Regions from separate parts of the Homo sapiens genome. Here region 1 is linked to region 2. The links are contacts of gene promoters, found by promoter capture Hi-C in blood cells and fetal thymus (Javierre and others, 2016). All regions are on one chromosome and are shown on one strand. The core of a region is centred on a gene start or on the middle of the fragment in contact, and the rest is flanking DNA. Distances in the headings are between cores, read along the strand shown.

What was found. Contacts are between HindIII fragments. The CHiCAGO score rates a contact against its expected background, and 5 or more counts as called.
Region 1: a contact is called between a fragment that was not itself captured here and the fragment with the promoter of PVT1 in region 2, in 1 of 17 cell types (non-activated CD4 T cells). The highest score is 5.0, in non-activated CD4 T cells.

What each region holds. Positions count from the first base shown.
Region 1 is chr8:128,626,235-128,629,373 of GRCh38, forward strand. No RefSeq gene overlaps it. Among named protein-coding and RNA genes, the nearest start is that of LINC00824, 63 kb to the left of the region's middle. The HindIII fragment of the contact is 2,273 bases long and covers 732-3,004 here.
Region 2 is chr8:127,793,271-127,796,395 of GRCh38, forward strand. PVT1 (Pvt1 oncogene) reads left to right here and starts at 1,254. Exons shown (of 9, transcript NR_190187.1): 1 at 1,254-1,464. MIR1204 (microRNA 1204) reads left to right here and starts at 2,692; the gene lies at 2,692-2,758. RefSeq lists enhancers at 1-234, 1,377-1,946, 1,947-2,518, 2,240-2,289, 2,390-2,729 and silencers at 960-1,009, 1,030-1,089, 1,100-1,259. The HindIII fragment of the contact is 6,547 bases long and covers 1-2,762 here.

The sequences.
Region 1 (3,139 bases), core at 618-3,117, 830 kb after region 2:
TTATGGACTCAAGTCACACCTCTGAGGAGCCCGGGTGGCATTGGCAGCTGCGTTTTCACCCACTGGTATCTTTGATTTCCTGTGTATTCCTCTCGCTGGTTATTTGCTAGTTCGGTATTAAACTAAAATAAAGGTAAAATTTCAAAATATGCATCTCTATTCCAGCTATCACTGATTTGTTGCCTGTTCAGAATGGCATGGCCATAGTTGTGGTGTTCAGCTAACACTGATTCTGATTAATCATTAATCACTGCCCATGCCAAACCAATCAACTTTCACTGCTGATCCTGGCCAGTCTTCAACTTGGGAACAGCCTTTGTGAATCAGCCTAGCTCAGCCTGGCTGTGAAGTTGGAGCAGAGAATTCTGGCAGAGGGTTCCGACATGGTTGGTAGGATGGATGGAGAAAGTAAAGATGGGTGCAGGGGAAGTAATGGAAATAATGTATTAGGCAAAAGCCCTGCAGACTGTCTCTGAATTGAAATCTTGTACTTAGACATGCAACAGAGGGGGTTTCCCACCTCTGCCCCAAACCTCCTGGGAAATTCTCCAAAGCAGCCCAATCACTTGGTATTTGCTCCATAACCGAGGTCAGAAAGTATAAGGACAATTTTTCTTTCATATGAAGCTCTGTGCATGTGAAAAGTAAATTTACCTTCTACTTCTAAAGATCTGTAGTAGGTACTGCAGTAGGAACATTACAGATGTGGTCATATTTCATCTTCATATGAAAGCTTTGAAAACGTATGATTTTCATTTTCCCCATTTTAAAAATAAGAAATCTGAGTGTCAAAGCAGTTAACTAATAATAAAGATTATGCATGTAGAAAGTGGCAGAGTGAAGGTTCAAACCCAGATCTTTCTAATATCCCCACATGAGCTTCTTACTTAAATATTCAAAACTGATCTCCTTTAAAATATTTTACTAAATGAAAAACCTTGAAAGAAAAGTTTTGTGTGTCTTGCCAAAATTATAGGTCTAATTAAAGTCAGAGTTGGGCTTTAGTAAATATCTGTTCAGTTGTCTCTTCTTACATAGGCCCTTCAAAGTGCTTTGGGACTATGGGAAAGAGATCCAAAGTGAGGTGGCAACTATCTCATTCAAACTGTTAAAGTTTAAGCACAAAGGAGCACTGCTAATTTGTAAGCAAACATCAGAATTTACCAGTTTCAGTGACAGCAAAGTCCTCACCAGAAGTTATCTTGGAGGTGCTGGGTGGCACCAGAGAATAAGCATGGGCTTTGAAATCAAAGGGCCTGTATTAAAACTCAGGCTAGGCCCGGTGGCTCACGCCTGCAATCCCAGCAATTTGGGAGGCCAAGGCGGGTGGATCACGAGGTCAGGAGATTGAGACCATCCTGGTTAACACGGTGAAACCCCACCTCTACTAAAAATAAAAAAAATTAACCGAGCGTGGTGGCACACGCCCTTAGTCCCAGCTGCTCGGGAGACTGAAGCAGGAGAATCGCTTGAACCCAGGAGGCAGAGGTTGCAGTGAGCCTAGATTGGCCCACTGCACTCCAGCCTGGGTGACAGAGCAAGACTGCGTTTCAAAAAAAAAAACACAACTCAGCTCAGGAGTTCGAGACCACCCTGGGCAACATGGTGAAACCCCATCTCTGCGAAAATACAAAAATTAGCTGGGCATGGTGGCGTGTACCTGTAGTCCCAGCTACTTGGGAGACTGAGGCACAAGAATCGCTTGAGCCCCAGAGGCAGAAGTTGCAGTGAGCCGAGACTGTACCACTGCACTCCAGCTTGAGCTACAGAGTGAGACTTCATCTCAAAACAAATAAATCTAAGTCTAGAGAAAGTTTTAAATGCCAAACTAATAAATATATTTTGTAATAATGCCTCTAACAATTTTCTTCTGTCTCTCTCTGTCTTTCTGTCTCTCTTTCTCCCTCTTCCTTCCCCATCCTCCTTCCCTCTTTTCTGTCCTTTATTCTTTCCTTTCTTTCATTCATGAGTATTAAAAGCCCTTTTTCTGCTCCATCTCTAGCCATATACCCCCTGGTGTTTTCTGCTAAAACAGAATTGATTGCCTCCTACCATGATAGTGGTTCTCACTTTTTTTTTTTTTTTAATTGAGACAGAGCCTCACTCTGTTGCCCGGGCTGGAGTGTGGTGGTGCAATCTTGACTCACTGCAACTTCTGCCTCCCGGGTTCAAGCAATTCTCATGCCTCAGCCTCCTGAGTAGCTGGGATTACAAGCATGCACCACCATGCCTGGACTTTTTGTATTTTTAGTAGAGAGGGGGTTTCACCATGTTGGCCAGGCTGGTCTAGAATTCCTGACCTCAAGTGATCTGCTCACCTCAGCTTCCCAAAGTGCTGGGATTAGAGGCATGAGCCATCACACCCGGCCATGGTTCCCACTTCTTTGCCTCCTTGGTTTCCTTTAGCTAAAGTGGTTTTAATTTTGTGTTGCCTTGGTGAGATTTTTAGTCACCAGGATCCTTCAAGATCTAACAGAAGAATCACTTTTACATTGAAATTTTTCCTATGCCCCCTTTTATTCCTCCTTCTCTAAGTTTACTTGATTGCTTCTCTCATTTATCTCTTTGTCCCAATTGTACCCTGTACATATCTCTATGGTTAATGATTCCAGCTTCACCCTATTCTATGCCTACACTTGATATTTCAAATATAATCATGTCTGGCTCATCAATAAAGCGGAACTATCACAAGACACTTTATCAGAAAGGTTGAGACACATCATGGGAGACAATGCATTTTAATAAGAAAGCCAGGGAAAGAATCTTCTGTTAGCCTTTGGAAATAAGAAAACCAGTGTGCTATCTATTTAACACTAGGACTCCCCCAGCTTTGTCCTATATCACTGTCACACCTGTACTTGAGACTGAGTTACAGAAGGAAAGTTAGTTGGGCATAAAACTGAAATAAAACTTTTTGAATATGCACAGAACTGTTTGAGCATCATGAAATTGTAGACAGTCATTCTTTTTAGCCAAAAATTACAATGCACCTGAAAGGCATTGAAGCTTGGTACCCAAGAAAACCAAGGGAAGTAACTGACACAGTTGACAGAAGCTAGTAAAAATGAGCTCTAGAATTTGTTGCAGATTCCACACTCATTCTGTTTCACTTCACTGTCTCTCAGCGACATTTGACTTA
Region 2 (3,125 bases), core at 4-2,503:
TAACCCCCACCCCATTGCCTAGCTGGGTGCCTGACTCCCCTTAAGTGCTCAGTAGACGTTGAACTGGACGGGCGCTGGCGTGGTGGCTCACGCCTGTAATCCCAGCAATTTGGGAGGCCGAAGCGAGTGGATCATCTCAGGTTCGGAGTTCGAGACCAGCCTGGCCAACATGGTGAAACCTTGTCTCTGCTAAAATTACAAAAATTAGCTGGGCGTGGTGGCGCGCGCCTGTGATCCCAGCTACTCCGGAGGCTGAGGCAGGAGAATCGCTTGAACCAGGCAGGCGGAGGTTGCAGTGAGCCATGATCGGGCCACTGCACTCCAGCCTGGGTGACAGAGTGAAACTTCATCTCTAAATAAATAAATAAATAAATAAATAAATAAATAAATAAAATAAACTTTGAACTGAACAGGGGCAGCTCTTACATCTGTCCAGTCTCGGGTTTATGCAGATAGAACAAGATAACCACATCCCACATGGGAGGCCAGTGTCCACTTGCTCCTTTGGAGGAACTACTGGGCATTTAAGGGACTCGTTGAACACACTCTGTAGGTCAACTCTGCCCGGAGTGGAGGGAGCTGCGCAGACCGCTGGCCCTCTGCACGGGTTTGCAACTCGGCTTCTGGAAACAGCGGGAGACGTCGAAGGAGGCGAGAAGGTGCGCGCGCCCTTCTCACCAGGCCGGCGGATGCTGGGTGGTACCCAAAGAGGCGCTCAGATCACTGGAGCTGGAGCTCAGTCGGCGGTCTTCTGCGGGAACTGCACCTATCCCGGAGCATCTCTGGCCCTCCTATTTCACTGAACTCGCCTTCCTCAGCAGGAAAGTGGGAAGACCGCTTGCTTCCAGGACGGTGTGGGGAAGGGTAAGAGGGCTCAGGGAAAGACCGTGGAAAGCTCGGCGCACAAGCGAGCTGGCATCACCGGGGATTCCCTCCGGCCCGGTGGGACTCCGGCGCGCTTGTAGCGAGGACCCCCAGCCCAGGGCAGAGCCTACCCTCCGCTCCCCCAGTCTGGGCCCTTGGCGGCCGCAGTCGCCCAAGCCCGCCCCGCCTCCGCGCGCGGCCCTCTCCGGCTCAGTGCCCTGCGCTGCCGGGAAGCAGGCTGAGGGGCGCACCGGGCGGCGGGCGGGGACCTGGGGAAGGCCGGGAGCGCCGGGACCGAGGACGCACGCGGCGGGCCGGGCCGCGCGCGCCTCCCCCCTCCCCCGAGGCCCGAGCGCGAGCCGCCGTGACGTCACGGGCAACCCGCCAGCCCCGCGCTCCTCCGGGCAGAGCGCGTGTGGCGGCCGAGCACATGGGCCCGCGGGCCGGGCGGGCTCGGGGCGGCCGGGACGAGGAGGGGCGACGACGAGCTGCGAGCAAAGATGTGCCCCGGGACCCCCGGCACCTTCCAGTGGATTTCCTTGCGGAAAGGATGTTGGCGGTCCCTGTGACCTGTGGAGACACGGCCAGATCTGCCCTCCAGTAAGTTCCAATTTTGTCCCCTGCGTTTCTGGAAACTCTCGAGACTTGGCCCTGAGTAGGGATGCGCTGTGAGTAGTCGGACGGAGGAAAGGGGCTTTCGGAATCCAATATGTGTGTGCTAGGCGTGCACTGTCCTCATCACCAGCCTCAAGACTGGTGGCGAGTTTGGGCGTTTGGGGAGGGTGAGGGGAGGGGGATGACACCGAATGGCCGGTGCATAGAGGCAATTCTGGATTTATGAACTTGATCAAAGGCATATTAACTAATTTCTAAAAATAGACCCCTCTGCAGTCAGAACAGATTTGGAGCCATGATGTGGTTTGGAGGCCCCTCTGGCGAAACTAGAGGTCTGTGAATGTGTGATCCTCCCTCCATCCTTTGACCATCACTCCCCGCTTCCTCTCACACCCCCTCAGGGCTGGGCGAAGGTGATTTCCAAAAACTCAGTAACTCCGTGTTTTGAGACTTTCTCAGTTTTTGCATCGCATGTGAGGGTTTGTTGGGTGCTCCTAAACCCTCATCATGGTCATTCTTCTTGGCTGGGCTGTTGATTTAATTAGGTTTGCCTTCTCTTGCTAACGTGCTCTTATTTATGCCAGTGTTTGTGGTTCTGGGTGTAGACTTTCAGGAAGCACAGCCATGAAGCTGCATGCGTCTGTGTGTGGATGCCTCATGCCTTTTCCTGGTGGTTTGCAGGCATGGAAGATTCTTCTGTTCATCTAAGCTCCTGACTTTAGGCCCTTCTAGAACATTAGAGAGGAGAAGAAATCACGTGCAAGGATTTAGGGACAAGAGGATGAGGTTTTGGTGTTTCCTTTCTGGTATTAGGTTTTCCAGAGAGAGGCTGTTAGCCTGTCTCTCGCCCACTCCACCACTGTGAATCCTGGCTACTGGGGCTAGTTCCTTGCTAGGAAAAAAAAACTCTAGAGAAATGTGTTTGTGTGTGGTGGGTGGGCGGGGGCCCTGAGGATGCAGGGACTGTGTCTGCTGTGTTGTCTGTTATAAGATGTTTCAGACCTATTTTGCATACTGGCAGCGACAAGTTGAGACTTGTTCAACTTGACACAGTCCTGTGGTCATAGCGAATCTTTCTAAAGCTCTGATCAGTCAAGAAGGGGGTTGTATCAATCCTCAGAACCCTGAGTGGAACTTTCTACAGGATTTATTAGGAGAAAAACCTTCCCGGAAGCTGCAGAAGGACAAATACAGAATCCGTGTCTGGGAGAAACCTCGTGGCCTGGTCTCCATTATTTGAGATGAGTTACATCTTGGAGGTGAGGACGTGCCTCGTGGTCTAAAGCTTCGGCACAAGGGCCCAACTGGAATTCCACTTACGGGTATGACTGTGGGGTATATGCTGTACCCATTGAATTCCCAGAGGGATTTGTTAAGTGGTTGTGTTGCTGTTTTGCCTGGTTAAGAGTGGCTTATTCTTGTTGCCTCATCTATCTTGAGTGCAGAATTTTTGCATAAACGGCTTCTCTTGAAAAATAGAAGTCCGTTTTTGTTTTGTTTTGTTTTTTTTCTGATTAACTTTCCTTTTCCTCTGTCTTAAACACCTTCCCCCGCCCCTCGCCACCTCCATGCTGTGTTTCTGTGGCTGGAGCTTTTCTGCACTGGAAAGGAGGAGTTCTCCCCTCTGTTCTGACATATCTGATCCC